Linked DNA regions of Homo sapiens: all the other regions are linked to region 2. The links are contacts of gene promoters, found by promoter capture Hi-C in blood cells and fetal thymus (Javierre and others, 2016). All regions are on one chromosome and are shown on one strand. Each heading gives the region's core, a stretch centred on a gene start or on the middle of the fragment in contact. The rest is flanking DNA. Distances are from core to core; before and after follow the strand shown.

Evidence for each region. Contacts are between HindIII fragments. The CHiCAGO score rates a contact against its expected background, and 5 or more counts as called.
Region 1: a fragment that was not itself captured here is called in contact with the fragment with the promoter of PLA2G1B in region 2 in 1 of 17 cell types (naive B cells); the score reaches 5.0 in naive B cells.
Region 3: a fragment that was not itself captured here is called in contact with the fragment with the promoter of PLA2G1B in region 2 in 1 of 17 cell types (naive B cells); the score reaches 5.8 in naive B cells.
Region 4: a contact is called between the fragment with the promoter of HNF1A-AS1 here and the fragment with the promoter of PLA2G1B in region 2, in 3 of 17 cell types (naive B cells, total B cells and erythroblasts). The highest score is 6.3, in naive B cells.
Region 5: a fragment that was not itself captured here is called in contact with the fragment with the promoter of PLA2G1B in region 2 in 1 of 17 cell types (naive B cells); the score reaches 6.1 in naive B cells.

What each region holds. Positions count from the first base shown.
Region 1 is chr12:121,002,870-121,006,717 of GRCh38, reverse strand. C12orf43 (chromosome 12 open reading frame 43) reads left to right here. Exons shown (of 6, transcript NM_022895.3): 4 at 324-397; 5 at 1,625-1,715; 6 at 2,229-3,848. The coding sequence ends at 2,565. Among named protein-coding and RNA genes, the nearest start is that of C12orf43, 12 kb to the left of the region's middle. The HindIII fragment of the contact is 4,279 bases long and covers 1-3,389 here.
Region 2 is chr12:120,326,326-120,330,037 of GRCh38, reverse strand. It overlaps PLA2G1B (phospholipase A2 group IB), which reads left to right and starts at 2,259. Exons shown (of 4, transcript NM_000928.3): 1 at 2,259-2,318. The coding sequence starts at 2,285. The HindIII fragment of the contact is 6,320 bases long and covers 1-2,543 here.
Region 3 is chr12:121,117,121-121,120,871 of GRCh38, reverse strand. It overlaps LOC105370030 (a long non-coding RNA gene), which reads right to left. Exons shown (of 3, transcript XR_007063494.1): 3 at 1,166-1,423. Among named protein-coding and RNA genes, the nearest start is that of P2RX7, 14 kb to the left of the region's middle. The HindIII fragment of the contact is 9,656 bases long and covers 1-3,751 here.
Region 4 is chr12:120,970,402-120,973,726 of GRCh38, reverse strand. It overlaps HNF1A-AS1 (HNF1A antisense RNA 1), which reads left to right and starts at 1,435. Exons shown (of 1, transcript NR_024345.1): 1 at 1,435-3,325. RefSeq lists an enhancer at 315-842. The HindIII fragment of the contact is 11,110 bases long and covers 1-3,325 here.
Region 5 is chr12:121,065,665-121,069,465 of GRCh38, reverse strand. LOC105378258 (a long non-coding RNA gene) reads left to right here. Exons shown (of 4, transcript XR_007063492.1): 3 at 1-129. Among named protein-coding and RNA genes, the nearest start is that of OASL, 28 kb to the right of the region's middle. The HindIII fragment of the contact is 178 bases long and covers 1,501-1,678 here.

The DNA of each region.
Region 1 (3,848 bases), core at 1-2,500, 680 kb before region 2:
GATCTGCCTGCCTTGGCCTCCCAAAGTGCTAGGATTACAGGCGTGAGCCACCATGCCTGGCCTCATCTTGTTTTACTATGTCTTTAAAACTTCTTCAACACTTACTGGAATAAAGTGGGCTTTAAAGAAATGAAGCACTGCAGTTCGCGTGGCAGAGGCTGGTCAGCATGTTATAACCAGACCATCAGCCCTCTTACTAGGCCAGCACGCTTTCGCTTTTGCATTTACAATCACATACCCCATCCCCTCCACTTGAAAAAGAATTTTGTTTTTGTCGTTATCCAAAAATCTCATCTTAAATCAACCGTCTCGTCTCCCTGTAGCTTCATTACCATCTCAGAAGCAGCAAAGGAGCCAGCAAAAGCTAAGGTACAGAAAGTCGCTTTGGAGGATGATGGTGAGTGGTTATACTTAATAGAAGCTATCATTTATTAAGCACCTAATGTGTGTCTGGAGGTGGGCGAAACAGTTTTGGTATATTCTTTTTTTTTTTTCTTTTTTTGAGATAGGAACTCTCTCTGCCACCTAGGCTGGAGTGCAGTGGAGCAATTATAGCTCAATGCAGCCTCAACCTCCCGGACCCAAGCAGTCCTCCCACCTCAGCTTCCTGAGTAGCTGGGACCACAGACACACACCACCACCCCTGGCTAATTATTTATGTTTTTTAGAGACAGGATCTCGCTATGTTGCCCAGGCTGGTCTTGAACTCCTGGCCTCAAGCCATCTGCCCACCTTAGCCTTCCAAAGTTCTGGGACTACAGGCGTGCACCACCACACCTGGCTAATTTTTGTATTTTTTTTTAGAGACAGGGTTCTGTCATGTTGCCCAGGCTGGTCTTAAACTCCTGGCCTCAAGCTATCCTCCCGCCTCAGACTACCAAAGTACTGGGGTTACAGGCATGGGCCACCTCACCATTCTTTCATCTGCTCAGCCCCTGTGGTGAGGCAGGTATTATGATTGAACCCCATGTACAGACAAGGAGACTGAGGCCCTGAGAAACGAAGTCATTTGCCTGAGGCGGCCTCGTCTGTGTCACCCTGAGCAGGAGCACTTTACTGCTGCCCTCCACAGCCTCGCCCATCTGCGTCTGTCCTGTACCAACACATTTGCCACTTTGAAGGCTGCCTTAGGTCAGGAGCTCAAGTGCTGACTTCCAGAAGCCTCTGAGGGCTTGCTGAGCTGATGTGGCTGCTGGCTCCTGCTCCAGCGCGCCCTCCACTGGCTCCATCAGGCATCAGCATGACCCTTGGCAGATGCAGAATCACTTTGTAGTTAGACGACTGATTCCTGGGTCTTTGCCTCTGGACCAGGAGCTCCTGAGGGCAGAGGCGGGGCAGCTTCAGCACCTGGCACCTGGGAGGAGGGGCTGGCATCTGGGGGTGCTGACTCTGCTCCTTTGTTTTTTTTGTTTGTTTGCTTGGTTGGGTTTTTTTGTTATTGTTTCTTTTTTAAATTTTTTTATTTTGTGTCTTCTTAAAATTTTTTTTTTGTTTCTCTTTATCTTTTCTTTCTTTCGTTTTCCTTTTTAAAATTTTTTTCTTTTTTGTTTCTTTATTTTTTATTTTTTTATGTTTCTTTTTGTTTTGTTTTGTTTTTGTTTGACTCTGCCCCATTGAATCTTAGGTTTCCGCCTTTTCTTCACATCTGTCCCTGGAGGCCGTGAGAAGGAAGAGTCTCCCCAACCCCGCCGAAAGCGACAGCCCTCCAGCTCCAGGTGAGAACTCACACCTCTCCTCACGTCCCCTCCTTTTTTCTCCTCTTCTGTCTTGGTGGGTTCCCTGGAATAGCCAAGCAGACTCCAGTCAGGACCAGGCCAAGGCAGTGGCCCTGTCAGGCAGCTGGAGAAATCATGAGCTCAGCGGGAGGGAAAGCCCTCTTGGCGGCAGCTTTGGATGTTTACTGCTTTTGAGCACCTGTCTTGGGCCAGACACCTCACTTGATCATAGTTGCCTCCTGGGACATCCCTGGGAGGCCTGGACTCTGTTAAGATCCCCGTTTTAGAGATGATACAGTCAGAGAGGTTAAGTCACTTAAGGAGGTCACAAGGCTGCTACGCCCAGAAGCCAGTATTGGAAGCCAGGTTGGCCTCACTCCCAAGCCTGAACTCACTACCTGCCTCTCTCTGCGGCCACCTTCTGGTGACCTGGACCAAGGGAGGACAGCGAGAGGCAGCTCTGGGGCTGTGTCCTGACTCCAGCTAACCCAGGGTACCCTCTCGTTGCAGCAGTGAGGACAGTGACGAGGAGTGGCGGCGGTGCCGGGAGGCAGCTGTGTCGGCGTCCGACATCCTACAGGAGTCAGCCATCCACAGCCCTGGAACAGTGGAGAAGGAGGCAAAGAAGAAAAGGAAGTTGAAAAAGAAAGCCAAGAAGGTGGCCAGTGTCGACTCGGCTGTCGCTGCCACCACCCCCACCAGCATGGCCACAGTCCAGAAGCAGAAGTCAGGTGAGCTCAACGGGGACCAGGTGTCGCTTGGGACCAAAAAGAAGAAAAAGGCAAAGAAGGCCAGCGAGACCTCTCCATTCCCACCAGCAAAGAGTGCTACAGCTATACCTGCAAACTGAACCCAGCCATGGGCACAGGGCTCAGCCAGCTCCAAGGACAAGGTGTCCCCCCCACCCTGGGGACAAGGCATTTCCAAGCCCCACCTCCCTCTCCAAGTTCAAGGACTGGGCTGGCAAACCCAGACTGCCCATGAGACCCTGATGGTGATGAAGGCTTGCTCGAGAGTTGGGCCAAAAAAGTGGCTGTAGGGTGAGAAGACCAATCAAGGCCTGCCCCTCTGTGCTCCCACGGAGGGCTGGCGGGGGCGCTGTGGTTCCAGAACATTTCATGACCTCAGGAAAAAAGGAACCTTCCAGTTATTTGAGACTAGTGGCCAAGTGGTGAAACCTCCATCTCCCTAGAACTGTCTGAGGTGGGCAGGGGAAGGGAGACCTTCCCCACCACCTCCTTAGCCTGGTGTGAGAAACAGTTTTTAGAAAATGAGAGAAGGGATCCCCAAGAGGCCAAGGCCCAGAGAAACTTTTGTTCTTCTCTCCTTAGCCCACATAGACTTCACAGAATCGTCTGAGAAAGGAGAGCTTTTTCACCCCTGGCTTTCTAGAATTTTCTTTGTCTGCATTTGTGAATATACCACACATGATGGTGTCTCTGAGCCGACCAGATTATGGAAACTCAATTGTCAGAGGACCCAAAACAAAACTTAGAGTGATTTGGATATTGCCTCTCTGTCAATGCTGAACCTTAAGACATTTTAAGTAAACATCCTCCTCCTCTCTACACCCCCAGGATTTGTGCGTTCACCCCACCCAAGACTTCAGGAAGTGTCATAGCACTCGTGGACTAGGTTTCATGGGACAAAGGCATTCTGCAAGAAGTAGAAGCTTGTGGCCGGGTGCAGTGGCTCATGCCTGTAATCCAAGCATTTTGAGAGGCCAAGGAGGTGGATCAATTGAGGCCAGGAGTTTGAGACCAGCCTGGCCAACATGGCGAGACCCCATCTCTACTAAAAATACAAAAATTAGCTGAGCATGTTGACACACGCCCGTAATCCCAGCTACTCAGGAGGCTGAGGTGGGAGAATCGCTTGAACCCAGGAGGTGCAGGTTGCAGTGAGCCGAGATTGCGCCACTGCACTCTAGCCTAAGCAATGGAGCAAGACCCTATCTCAAAAAAAAAAAAAGAAAAAGAAAAAGAAAAGAAGTAGAAGCTCATGGCCAGGGATGGTGGCTCACACCTGTAATCCCAGCACTTTGGGAGGCCGAGGCAGGTGGATCACTTGAGCCGAGTTCCAGACCAGCCTAGGCAACATGGTGAAACCTCGTCTCTATAAAAAAAAGAATAC
Region 2 (3,712 bases), core at 1,010-3,509:
CTAATCGGGAGGCTAAGGTGGGAGGATTGCTTGAGCCCAGGAGGTTGAGGCTGCAGTGAACTATGATCGTGTCACTGCACATCAGTCTGGGAAACAGAGCGACACTTTGTCTCAAAAAAAAAAAACAGATAAATAAATTAAATAACCAGGCCCTCCTTATCCCACAGGGTTGTTGTAGAGGTGACATAGGAACAGAAGAGCACCAAGTTAACCAATTATAAATCTATATAGAGAGAAGCAGATCAGAGGCCAGGCACAGTGGCTCATGCCTATAATCCCAGCATTTTGGGAGGCTGAGGAGTGGATCACCTGAGGTCAAGAGTTTGAGACCAGCCTGACCAACATGGTGAAACCTTGTCTCTACTAAAAATACAAAAATTATCCAGGCATGCTGGCAGGCGCCTGTAATTCCCAGCTACACGAGAGGCTGAGGCAGGAGAATCGCTTGAACCTGGGAGGCGGAGGTTGCAGTAAGCCGAGATCGTGCCATTGCACTCCAGCCTGGGCGACAAGAGCGAAACTCTGTCTCAAAAAAAAAAGAGAGAGAGAGAGAGAAGCAGATTAGCAGTTACCAGGGGCTGAGGGAGTGTGACTGCTAATGGGTACAGGGTTTCCTTCTGGAGTGATAAAAATGTTCTGGAACCCCATAGAGGTGATGGTTGCACAACACTGTGAAGGTACTAAATGCCCCCGAATTGTTTACTTAAACGTGGTTAATGTTATGTGAATTTCAGCTAAACAATGTTATGTAGATATTTGGCCGGGCGCGGTGGCTCACGCCTGTAATCCCAGCATTTTGGGAGGCCGAGGCAGGTGGATCACGAGGTCAGGAGATCGAGACCATCCTGGCTAATGCGGTGAAACCCCATCTCTACTAAAAATACAAAAAAAAAAATTAACCGGGCGTGGTGGTGGGTGCCTGTAGTCCCAGCTACTTGGGAGGCTGAGGCAGGAGAATGGCATGAACCTGGGAGGCAGAGCTTGCAGTGAGCCAAGATCGCGCCATTGCACTCCAGCCTAGGCAACAGAGCAAGACTCCGTCTCAAAAAATATATATAAATAAATAGATATGTGATGTGACAGGTTTTTTTTTGAGATGGAGTTTTGCTCTTGTTCCCTAGGCTGGAGTGCAATGGCGTGATCTCAGCTCACCGCAACCTCCGCCTCCAGGGTTCAAGCCATTCTCCTGCCTCGGCCTCCGGAGTAGCTGGGATTACAGGCATAAGCCACCATGCCTGGCTAATTTTGTGTTTTTAGTAGAGACAGGGTTATTCCATGTTGGTCAGGCTGGTCTCGAACTCTCCACCTCAGGTGATCTGCCAGCCTCAGCCTCCCAAAGTGCTGGGATTACAGGCATGAGCCACCGTGCCTGGCCTCTGATATGACAGTTCTAATGCCCTTTAGTATTCTATAATTCAGACTCAGGCCTTTGGAATCCAAAGCCCAGGTTTTTCTCACAAACCCACACTGCAGAGCGGAGTGGTGGAAAAAAATAAAACCTCTGCCTTGGAATCAGACAGATCTAAACTGGAGCCCTATTTTGTCATTTGCCAACTGTGTGACCTTGGGCAAGTTACCGCAACTCTCTGAACCTGTCTCTTTATCTGCAAGGTGCACGACTGATGGGACTATTCAACCAGACCCAGTGCACAGATTCAGGCACTTGATAAGACATTGAGGCTGCAGGCAGCGATCTTTTTTCTTTCTTTCTTTTTTTTTTTTTTTTTTTGAAATAGGGTCTCACTCTGCTGCAGAGGCTCAATCACTGTTCATTGCAGCCTTGACCTCCCTGGCTCAAGAGATCCTCCCATCTCAGCCTCCTGAGTTGCTGGGATCACAGGTGCAATCCACCACCACACCTGGTTAACATTTTTTTTTTTAGAGATGAGGTCTCTCTATGTTGCCCAGGCTGCACTTCCTTCTTGTCTCCCTTATCCCAGCGTCCGACTGAACTGACGGCTTTGCTTTCCCCAACCAGCCCGTGAAGCTGGGCTGAGTACAAAGTGGTGGGTATGAGGGTCAAGATTGTAAGATCTGAAAACTCCAGAAACCATCCCTTTGGTTAACAGTTGCTAAGGACAAATGCATAACATATTTTCCAGTGATCCCATGCTGGCAAATCGTCAGGGTCATTCCTGCAACAGACAGATTCAAGGCCAGCCCCAAACTCAGCCAAGAGCAAAGCAAACACTCCAGCCTTATCTGGGCAGGGTTGTGTGGAGACTGACTATAAGACTATACCTGAGACTGGTCATCTCAGTTCTTTTCTCACCTTGACTGCAAGATGAAACTCCTTGTGCTAGCTGTGCTGCTCACAGGTAGGCAAGTCTCCCCGGCTCCACCCGCCTTTCTCTCCCAAGTGAGCTAAGATCTCACTCCTCTGGAATGGGGGCCACAGGCCACAGCAAACAGGGATGGCCAGCCCCGCAGTCTCAATTCGAGGTTCCCAGTGGGGCTTAAGGGCTCCTCTATTGGGGTTCCCTCAAGGCTGGCACTTTTTCAACCTGCAAGTCTGAACTCAGATTGCCTGAGCTAAGAAAGCTTGCCTTTATTTTCTTTTTTCCAGACAGGGTCTTGCTCTATCACCCAGGCTGGAGTTCAGTGGCATGATCATAGCTCACCACAGCTTCCAACTCGTGGGCTCAAGTGATCCTCCCACCTTACTCAACTAAGTAGTTAGGCCAATCTCCCATTTATTTTATTTTATTTTAATTTTTATTTTTATTTTACTTTATTTTATTTTTGAGACGGGGCTCACTCTGTCGCCCAGGCTGGAGTGCGGTGGCGTGATCTCAGATCACTACAACCTCCATCTCCTGGGTTCAAATAATTCTCTTGCCTCAGCCTCTCAAGTAGCTGGGACTTGTAGCTCTCAAGTAGCTGGCACACACCACCATGCCCAGCTAATTTTTTGTGTGTTTTTTTTGGTAGAGACAGGTTTTCACCATGTTGGCCAGGCTGGGTGACCTCCCTTTTAGATTCTCCTCATCCTGCTCTATTCTTCCCCTTTCTAATGCAGTATCCAGTTTCCTTACTTATCACATTTATTATTATTCTTATTATTATTGAGACAGAGTCTTGCTTTGTCGCCAAGGCTGGAGTACAGTGGTGCGATCTCGGCTCACTGCAAGCTCCACCTGCTGGGTTCACGCCATTCTCCCGCCTCAGCCTCCCCAGTAGCTGGGACTAAAGGCGCCTGCCACCACGCCCCGCTAATTTTTTTGTATTTTTAATAAAGACGGGGTTTCATCGTGTTAGCCAGGATGGTCTCGATCTCATGACCTTGTGATCCGCCTGCCTCGGCCTCCCAAAGTGCTGGGATTACAGGCATGAGCCACCGTGCCCGGCCTTATCACATTTATTATTTATTGTTTTTCTCTCCCACTAGGTTGTAAGCTCCATGAGGTTAGAGATTATTATTATTATTATTATTATTATTATTATTATTATTATTATTATATCTGTTCACTGCTGTATCTCTAGCTCCTAGGACAGAGCCTGGCACATAGTAAGTGCTCAATAAATATTCACTGGATAAACAGTGCAGATAGTTTAAAACTATCTGACCTAGGGAGGCTGAGGCAGGAGAATGGCGTGAACCCGGGAAGCAGAGTTTGCAGTGAGCTGAAATCGTGTCACTGCACTCCAACCTGGGCAACAGAGCAAGACTCCATCTCAAAAAAAAAAAAAAAACTATCAGGCCTAGCTGGGT
Region 3 (3,751 bases), core at 1-2,500, 790 kb before region 2:
TGTACAGATATTCCACATTTTGTTTGTCTGTTAATCCGTAGATGAACATTTAGTTTCTTTCCACTTTTTGGCTACTGTGGATAATGCTGGTATAAACATGGTTCTACAAATTCCTATTCATGTTCCTGCCTTCAATTCTTTGGGGGGATATAGCCAGTAGTAGAATTGCTGGGTCATGTGGTAATTCTGTATTTAAGTTTTTGAGGAAACACGTTTTGTTTTTTCTTTTTTATTCTTTTAACACAAAGAACATTTCTTCTGTATTTTTATGTAATCTGCCAGGATAGCCACGCGTGCCTGATAGCATCTCCTTTTAAACCCAAAAGCTGAATACATCACCCTTGGAAGGGGAAATATCTTCCTTGTATCAGTGAGTCACCGCCTCTCTCGCTAAAGCAGAAATAAAAATTATTAATTTAATTCCAGCTGGGCACATTGGCTCATGCCTGTAATCCCAGCATTTTGGGAGGCCAAGGCAGACAGATCATCTGAGGTCAGGGGTTCGAGACCACCTTGGCCAACATGGTGAAATCCCATCTCTACTAAAAATATAAAAATTAACTGGGCATGGTGTTAGGCATCTGTAGTTCCAGCTACTCAGGAGGCTGAGGCAAGGGGATCACTTGAACCTTGGAGGTGGAGGTTGCAGTGAGCCGAGATCACACCGCTGCATTCCAGCCTAGGCAATGAGTGAGACTCCGTCTTAAAAAAATAAAAATAAAAATAAAAATAAAAATGTAATTCCAACAGTGCATTTTGCTACAGAGGATAGAGAGGGGAAGCAGAATAAAGTTATGCTGAATAGTTGGACATTTAGGACATGAGACAAAAAACAGAAGCAGAGAGACTGAGAGAAGGAAGAGAGGAGCTGAGTTATGGGGCTGTGGCGTGAAGACCACCAGCCCCAAGACTCCCTCGAGTGATCCTCAATAAAGAGTTCCTCCCTAGTCCTGGACTCCAGGAGGCCTGACTCATTTACAACATGTCTTCTTGTTTTCTACGAGATCTCGTCTTCCATATTTCTCTCTGAGCATCCGCATAAGAAGCCCTAAGTGTGTAACTGTTCAAACGAACGCAGCTAAAACACAGTCTCATTCCCTTGGTTCCCACCAAACTGACAGCACCTTCATGTCAATGACATTGACTCACTTGGGCCCATTTTGTTGAGCCAGTGACATGGCACTCATCAGAGTAGTCGTCTCAATCCAGCTAAAGAGCTCCAAGCCAAATGGAGAAGCCAGTGGAATGGGTAGGAACTGGGATTGTCACTATGCTGAGGAATGGAGATGGTGATATGGGATAAAGCAGGTACAGCAAGCAGGACGTGAGGGCCAGAGCTGAGGGGTCTGCAGGTCAGGAGGCTGAGCTCAGGATCGCTGGAGGCCCCAGGAAGGTGTAGGGAGGGCACCTTGGTTCTGCCCACCTGCAGGAAGAGAAGAGGGGATGGCGATAGAGTCCATGATTGAAGATCTCTGTACTTCTCCCTGCCCATGGCATAGCTCTTACCAAAACTCCCTCTTTTCACTGGCCTTTTTATCCAGTCAAACCAAATTTCCCTTGTCTCTCTCTCTCTCTCTCTCTTTCTCTTGCTTTTTTTCATACCCACCCCCATTTCTCTTATGCCTAGAACAGTCGCCCACTTAGCATCTGCCTGCCCAGTACTTTGCCTTCCTTTACAACTCCACCTACCACTTAATTTCTCTAAGTGGCTAATTAACTGAAAGTTGAATAATTATACCTCTTTCCCCAAAACACATCTCTGAAATCCCACATGCCCCTGGGGTTGCGATCCATGAAGAAAGGTCTCTGACTACCTAATTTTCATTAAGGGAATTCAATGAGATGACTAATTACAAGCACCATGCCTGGTATCTAATACTGTTCAGTGAACTGCAGCTATTAATTAATAATGATATGTTATTAATAATAATAAAATAATAATATGATATAAGCTCTTAGAAGACAAGGACAGTGGCTGCTCTATGCCAAGTTTCAATAATCCAATATTCAATTTTTTTTTTTTTTGAGACAGAATCTCGCTCTGTCGCTCAGGCTGGAGTGCAATGGCACGATTTCGGCTCACTGCAACCTCCATCTCCTGGGTTCAAGCAATTCTCTGCCTCAGCCTCCCGAGTAGCTGGGATTACAGGTGCCTGCCACCATGCCCAGCTAATTTTTGTATTTTTAGTAGAGACAGGGTTTCACCATCTTGTTCAGGCTGGTCTTGAACTCCTGACCTCGTGATCCACCCACCTCAGCCTCCCAAAGTGCTAGGTTTCTAGGCGTGAACCACCATGTCTGACCTCAGATATTTAATTGTAGCAGAGATTGATAGATTTTTCTGCCATGCCCATCTTCCCCCTCTAGCTCAATTTGAGATCACAGACCTTCATATCCATAGCTGTGGCTTATTGGACCAGGGTGAACATCTGCCCAGGAGAGCAAGACTATTGGCTGGTCAGTGGCCAATTGGGACTGCTCTATTGAGAATATGAGCCATGTGTAGCGGCTCATGCCTGTAATCCCAGCAATTTGGGAGGCCAAGGCAGGAGGATCACTTGAGGCCAAGAGTTCAAGACCAGCCTGGGCAACATAGCGAGACCCTGTCTCTACAAAAAAAAATTTTTTTTAATTAGGCATGGTGGTGTGTGCTTGTAGCCTAGCTACTTGGGAGCCTGAGGTGGGAGGATTGCTTTAGCCAAGAGTTTATTTGTAGAGATGAGGTTTCACTATGTTGCCCAGGCTGGTCTCAAACTCCTGGGCTCAAGCAATCCTCCCACCTCGGCCTCCCAGAGTGGTAAGATTACAAGCGTGAGTCACCAGACCCAACCCCAGCTCTGCCATCTCTATGGTGTTACCTTCATCAGCATGATCCAAAATGGTTCCCACCAGAACTGAATTCTAAAAAGGCTGGAAGCACTTTAGGAGGCTGAGGCAGGTGGATCACCTGAGGTCAGGAGTTCGAGACCAGCCTGGCCAACATGGTGAAACCTCATCTTTACTAAAAATACAAAAAATTAGCTGGGCGTGGTGGCACGTGCCTATAATCCCAGCTATTTGGGAAGCTGAAGCAGGAGAATTGCTTGAACCCAGGAGGTGGAGGTTGCAATGAGCGGAGATTGCACTACTACACTCCAGCCTGGGTGACAGAGCAAGACTCCATTTTTCAAAATCAATAAATCAATAAAAAATTAAAAGCCTGGAAGAAAGAGGAAAGGAGAAAGAGAAGGCATGTTCCTCCCTTGAAGGATGGGATCTGTCACTGCCACTTGCAGGTCATTGGCCAGAGCGTAGTCACATGGTCACACCTACCTGCAGTAGAAGGTAGGAAATGCCATCCTCATTCTGCTGACCATGTTCCCTACCGAAAATCAGGGAGCCAGACATTGAAGACAACCAAGAATTCCTGCCACCAGTACCCATGAAACAGTCCTCTGAGCTGGGGCTGAATGAGTCCTACACATGGAAGGAAATCTTTGGGTTTCCAGGGGATCTGGGCAGCTCTGAGGCATATAACATAGCCCAGCCAGGAAAAAGCTCCCAAAAGAGAATTTATTTGTCCAGGAATGTACAGGCAAAAAATCACCATTCTGTGTTTTTCCATGGGGTAGAGGCCTGACCAACCTCATGTGGTTTGTTCCGTCCAGCTTGGCACTGACAGAGGCTGGTGGGGCCTGGGGGAGGGTCTGAAAATCCAGGGTCTCAGGTATGAACTACTGCTCTGATCAACTGCTAGGCTGTGTCCTGTGGG
Region 4 (3,325 bases), core at 186-2,685, 640 kb before region 2:
ATCTCAGCTCACTGTAACCTCTGCCTCCTGGGTTCGAGCAATCCTCCTACCTTAGCCTCCTGAGTAGCTGGGACTACAGGCACACACCACCATGCCTGGCTAATTTTTGTATTTTTGGTAGAGACAGGGTTTCACCATGTTTGCCAGGCTGGTCTCAAACTCCTGGCCTCAAAAGATCCACCCACCTCGGCCTCCCAAACTGTTGGGATTATAGGCGTGAGCCACCGTGCCCGGCCAAGTGCATTTTTTTGTAAACCCCCGTGCAAGTTGCTTTGAGGTTGAGCAGCTTACTGCTGGGGACAGCATTCTCAAGTCCAGGCTAAACAGGGAAGATGCTGTGTGCTGTCCCTTTGTGGCTTTGAGGTTCTCCTGCTTATTCTCTTTGCTGCCTGCAGCTGCCTCTTGGTGACTTTCCCTTTCCAGGGAGCCAGAGGAACCAAGGAGTGTTGGCCCTGACTCCTGCCCCCAGCATGTAAACTCATTAACTGCTGGGTCCTCAGGCAGTTAGGTGGCTGAGCATTTGAGTCTGGGACGGCAGGTGGATTTGGTTGGAGAGGGAATGACAGAGATTGGGGAGGAGCCTCCAGAGTCTAAAGAGATAGGTACACAAGCAGAAAGTTCCAGCCCCCAGCCTGCCTTTCCCCCATGCTCAGGGGACAAAGCTGAATTAACTCGAGGTCAGGAATGGCATTTGCATTTGCATTCTTGAGAGTCACTGCAAATAAGAGCTGTAGTCATGGTGAGTGGTTAAGGCAATGGACTAGAGAACCACTGAGAAAAAAAGCGAACAGTGGCTGGGCGCAGTGGCTCATGCCTGTCATCCCAGCACTTTGGGAGACCGAAGTGGGTGGATCACTTGAGGTCAGGAGTTCGAGACCAGCCTGGCCAACATGGTGAAAACCCGTCTCTACTAAAAATACAAAAATTAGCCAGGCTTGTCAGTGGGCACCTATAATCCCAGCTAGTCGGAAGGCTGAGGCAGGAGAATCACTTGAACCCAGAAGGCAGAGGTTGCAGTGAGCTGAGATCATGACACTGCACTCCAGCCTGGGTGACAGAGAGAAACTCCGTCTCAAAAAAAAAAGAAAAAGAAAAAAAAAAAAAGGAACAGCCGGACATGGTAGCTCATACCTGTAATCCCAGCGCTTTGGGAGACCGAGGCAGGTGGATCACCTGAGGTCAGGAGTTCCAGATCAGCCTGGCCAACATGGTAAAACCCCATCTCTACTAAAAATACAAAAATTAGCTGGATGTGGTGGCGCACACCTGTAGTCCCAGATACTCAGGAGGCTGAGGCAGGAGAATAGCTTGAACCCGGGAGGCGGAGGTTGCAGTGAGCAGAGATCACGCCACTGCACTCCAGCCTGGGCGATAGAGTAACAATCCGTCTCAAAAAAATCTGAAAATTAAAAATTAAAAAGTGAACAGTTGTTTAGTAAGTGCAGTAGGTAGGCCAAGATAACTATTAAGTATGTCCTAACAAGGTAGCTGCTTGAAAAAAATAATGCACATAAATTAAAAAAAAAAAAACTATTTTCACTCATTCTTAACTTCTCGTATGGATGTACTAACGGGAGGCCTGTGCCTGTTGGGCTGTCCACAGCTACTCAAACCTTGAGATTAGATTGGACGCTATCTAATCTCATTTCCTGTTACACAATAACTTCTGCATGGCACTTGCTTTTAATCATGACAACTGCCATACACTCAGCTTTACAAAATCATGTCATTGTGGAAAGGAAGTTCCCTCCATCTAACATTCAAATTTAACTATCCTGAGCTGGTAGTTTGCAAGGTGTCCAACAGATGTCACTGTGTTTCCTTCGCAAATTCTCTAAAATAGTCTGCTGTGTCCCGGGGCATAGTAGATATTCAAGAAATGGTGGCTATGAGTTTTATCACAATTCTCTCCTACTGGGTGAGCAGCTGTTTGCAAGACTAAAATTCGGGCGAGGCACAGGCTTCCCCTTGGTCTTAGCAGCTAGCACAAGACGAGTGTCCCTTCAGCCAGTCTCAGAGCTCTTTGGCAATTCAACTGACCCTTGTCCTTCAGTCCAGACAATGCCCCAGGGCCCACCTGCATTCAAACTCGGACTGTTCTCCTTCCCACCCCTATTATCTTTTCAACTTTATGGACAGTACATGCAATTTTCTCATTCATTTTCTCATTTAACATCTAACAGCTTCATGATATCCCCATTTTACAGATAAGGAAACCAAGGCTTTAAGAGGATAGGGACCCTAATCGGCTAAGGCAGAATTAGGATTTGAACCCAGATCCCCATGACGCCAGAATCTAAGCCTTGACCAAATATGTGTTACTATTACTTTTGTTGTTGTTGTTGTTCTGGGTAACTCCAACCCTCTGCTCGTTGGCCTTGTCACCTCAGTGCTGATTTTGCAGATGAAGAGACTAAGGTTCCGAGGTGCTAGAGCACAGTGGTTAGGAACACACACTCTAGAGCCAGAGTGCCTGGGTTTGAGCCTCGTTCTGCCGTTTACTAGCCGTATGGCCTTGGGCAACTTGCTTAACTTCTCTTTGCCTCAGTTCCTCTTCTCTTGGGTTGTTAGGAGAATGAATGAGGTGATATCCACAGTGTCCAACACCCTGCAAGCGGCCAGGTGTGGTGGATCACACCTGCAATCCCAGCACTTTGGGAGGCCGAGGCAGGTGGATCATTTGAGGTCAGGAGTTCGAGACCAGTCTGGCCAACATGGCGAAACCTCATTTCTACTAAAAATACAAAAATTAGCCGGGCGTGGTGGCAAACAACTGTAATCCGAGCTACTAGGGAGGCTGAGGCAGAAGAATCGCTTGAACCCAGGAGACAGAGGTTGCAGTGAGCCAAGATTGCACCACTGCACTCCAGCCTGGGCGACAGAGTGAGACCCTGCCTCAAAAACTAAAAATAAAAAATGAACAGTGTCCAACACCTTGAAAGCATTCCGCATGACTGAACGATCACTGTTACGTGATTACCAACATGACGACCCCACTTCTCTTGGCCAAACTGAGTTCTCTTCTCTTGTAAAAACTTCTGCATATGAAGTCACCCATTCCATTTGACTCTTTAGCCCTCATCCTGGCATTCAAGGGCATGGACGACTCAACCCCACTCTCTAGCCAGCCTGACCTCTCCATTCCCTTCTCTGGCGTAGAGGCCACTCCCACCACCTGCCCTTACCCCCTGCCCACTTTTGTCAGCCTGTACTGTGTTGAAGCTCCCAGGAGAGACAACTGCAGTCATCACTTTCCACTGTGTTCAGTGATGTCAGTTCGGCCCAGCTGGAGGTACTCACATCATGGAAACAGACCATCAGATTT
Region 5 (3,801 bases), core at 340-2,839, 740 kb before region 2:
GAAATATCTGGTGATGGAATTTCAAGAATGGAACCTCTGGCCGGGCGTGGTGGAGACAGAGTCTCACTCTGCACCGTGCCGGCCAGATTTTGGTATTTCTTATGGGAAACCTGAGTTCCTGCATTAGAGGTATGTTCACACTGGCCTGTTGAATGCTGTCCTCTTAAATGTATTTAAAAATTATCCTCTGTATTTTTCGTATGCGGTTATAAATGTGTTTTGGGGATCTATTTTATTCCTTAATTTATATATTTGATTCTAGCGTCAAGCAGGTTCCCTTTGAATTTTTCCTTTAAAGAACATGTGCTATTTCCTATTACATCCTGTACCCCTCAAACTGCCCAATTAGGTATACTCCTGGGGAAAATATGGCAAAGTTTGTTGTAATGCAGTTTTTTTACCTAATTAAGTAGCTACTAAAATAATTAATTTCAAAAATTTGGAGCAAACCTAGAAAGATGCAGATGTCTTTGTGGCTTTTCACGCAATCAAGTTTACCTATCTTTGCTTTTAATATGTATTTCCTCTTGATGAAATGTTTATTTAGTTTAGTAAACTTGGGATATGTCATTTATATCCATAAATCAACTTTTTAAAAAAGAGATAATAAGAATGTGTATTGTCTATGTGTTCGTGTGTAAAACAAGATCCACTTTTATTTTTTATTATTTATTTTATGATTTGAGTTTATTTTATAAATGAGTTTATGCAGAATCATAGAGGTATCAACTACAGTCAATCACCCAACCTACTTACCTTTCCAAAGGTAAATATACTCAAGTACAATCATTTTTTTCTCATCCAAAGAGTAGCCCATATTGAATAAAGATAGGGACATGAAATGAATCGGTAGACACTATTAACCAAGAATATACAGATTTATTCACACCAAGAAACAAGTAAGTCATATGGATATATATATAAAGATAAATTTAAAAATAATAAGGTGATAATTGTACAAGTTTGCATATAGAGCTGCAGCTCTGAAAAACTGTTTATATTGTTTTGATATATTGTGTGACTTGTTCCCCTAACCCATCACCCGGAGTTGATGCTAAGATACTGTTGGTTCCATGACTCGGAAGCAATCTAAGGTTAGAGGCACTTACATTTGCTAGGAATAAATAAGGCAAGATGATATTTTTCACCACTTTTAGCACAGCAGACTTGTCAGTAGATAAGCGGCTCCACCCAGGACACTGGTATTCATCTCATTCGCACAGCTCATCTGTTGACCATGACTCAAGCAACTGGACCACTCTGGAGGACCATAGTGCCCTTTAAAAAATTTTTTTTTGTATTTTTAGTAGTGACAGGGTTTCCCCATATTAACCAGGCTGGTCTCGAACTCTTGACCTCAGGTGATCCACCTGCCTTGGCATCCCAAAGTGCTGGGATTACAGGCATAAGCCACCGTGCCAGGCCTCCTAATGTGCCCTTTTATGTGGAGTGGCCATTGAGTGTGCACTCAGCCAGACACAGACAGCATTTTTGAAAGCTTTATCTGAGTATTTCAAAATTGAGTATGAATTTGGATAAAGTGGTTGGTTGTAGACCAAGCAGGAAGATGTCATAGAAAGAACAATGGCTTGGGAGTTCGGAATCCCGGGCTTGCATGAATCTTTGAGCTTGTTAAGTCGTGCAATCTAAAGCAAGGCATTTCACTGATAATTAAGCTTCATGAGCATTTGCACTGATAACATTATACACATTGAACAATTCAGAAGTCACCACATACGTATGGCGTGGCTTACTCTCACCTTTCACCGGTTGGAGAAAAAGAGACAGAGATGAATGTGATCAAGTTTATGAGCTCCTAAGTAAAAGAGCCAAGATGGGAACCCAAGCATGTGGCTCCAGCGCCGAGGCTCTGAGCAACGGATGCACCATCATCACTCAGCTGTGGGACCACCAGTCACTGTGCAAAAGAGTTCCATCATCTGTATGTATTGACACGTCTGGAATTATCTGAGCCTATAGAGTTCCTACACACTATCCACAATATATGCTGGTGTCAGTGGGCACATAGCCCAGCACAGGTATTAGTGCATAAATACCACAGGTTTATCATAGTCATTATGTGAAACCCACTTAGAAAGCCCAAATGCTTTCGGACAGCTCGTAGATTTTGAGAGCTCGGGGACACCACTTGGGACAGCCAGTAAAATTCTTTCAGTGCTTGGCCGCTCCTCAGCACCTGTCCCAAACTGATAAATAACGAGAAGACTCTTTTTTCCAAACGGAGTTTGGCTCTTGTTGCCCAGGCTGGAGTGCAATGGCACCACTTCGGCTCACTGCAACCTCCATCTCCCGGGTTCAAGCCATTCTCCTGCCTCAGCCTCCTAAGTAGCTCAGATTACAGGTGCATGCCACCACGCCCAGCTAATTTTTTGTATATTTAGTAGAGAAGGGGTTTCACTGTGTCGGCCAGGCTGGTCTCAAACTCCTGACCTCAGGTGATCCACCTACCTCGGCCTCCCAAAGTGCTGGGATTATAGGCGTCAGCCACCGCGCCCAACCAGTACCTATTTTCTTTGAAACATAACAACTCTCTCATCTTCATCCTAAAATGTTCAAAGCATATTAAAGGGCAAAAACCACAGTATGAAGAGACAGAGCATGCATCAGAGCCAGACTGCAATATACAGAGATTTGATGATTATCAGACTGATAACTATGATTAATATGCTAAAGGCTCTAATGGAAAAAGTGGATGAGATTCAAGAACCAATGGGATGTAAGTAGAGAAGTGAAAACTCTAAGAATCAAAAGGGAATGCTAGAAATAAAAAATGCCGTAACAGAAACGGAGAAGGCCTTTGATGGACCCGTCAGTGGACTGCACGTGGTTGATGAAGAAATCCGTGAACCTGAGAAAATGTCAATAGAACTTCCCAAACTGAAAAGCAAGAGAAAAAAAGACTGAGGAAAACAGAAAAAAATATCAAAAAATGGCGGGACAATTACAAAAGGTATAACATCTTCGTAAAGGGAATTCTAAAAGGAGAAAAATGAAAGAAGCAGAAGAAATATTTTAACTAATAATGGCTGATAACTCACCAAAATTATTGACAGACACCAAGCCATAGATCCAGGAATCTCAGAACACCAAACAGGATAAATACAAAGAAGTCAATATCTCATCATATCATATTCAAATTTTGTAAAATCAAAGATAAAAACTTTGAAAGAAGCCGGGCACAGTGGCTCAGGCCTGTAATCTCAGCGCTTTGGGAGGCCAAGGTGGGCTGATCACTTGAAGTCAGGAGTTCGAGACCAGCCTGGCCAACATGGTGAAACAGTCTCTACTAAAAATACAAAAATTAGCTGGGCGAGGTGATGGGTGCCTGTAGTCCCAGCTACTCAGGAGGCTGAAGCAGGAGAATTGCTTAAACCCAGGAGACAGAGCTTGCAGTGAGCCAAGATCACGCCACTGCACTCCAGCCTGGGCAACAGAGCAAGACTCCATCTCGAAAAAAAAAAGAAAAAGAAAAAAAAAAAACTTTGAAAGAAGCCAAAGGAAAATATACATACTACTCATAGAGGCACTAGTATAAGAATTACACTGGGCAGGGTGCAGTGGTTCACACTTATAATCCCAGCACTTTGGAGGCCAAGGCAGTAGGACTGCTTGAGCTCAGGAGTTTGAGACCAGCCTGGGCAACATAGAGAAACCCCATCTCTACAAAAAATATGAAATATTAGCAAGGCTTGCCAGTGTTTGCCTGTGGTTCCAGCTACTCGGGAGGCTGAGGCAGAAGGCTCACTTGAGCCTGGGAGGTTGAGGCTACAGTAAGTCAAG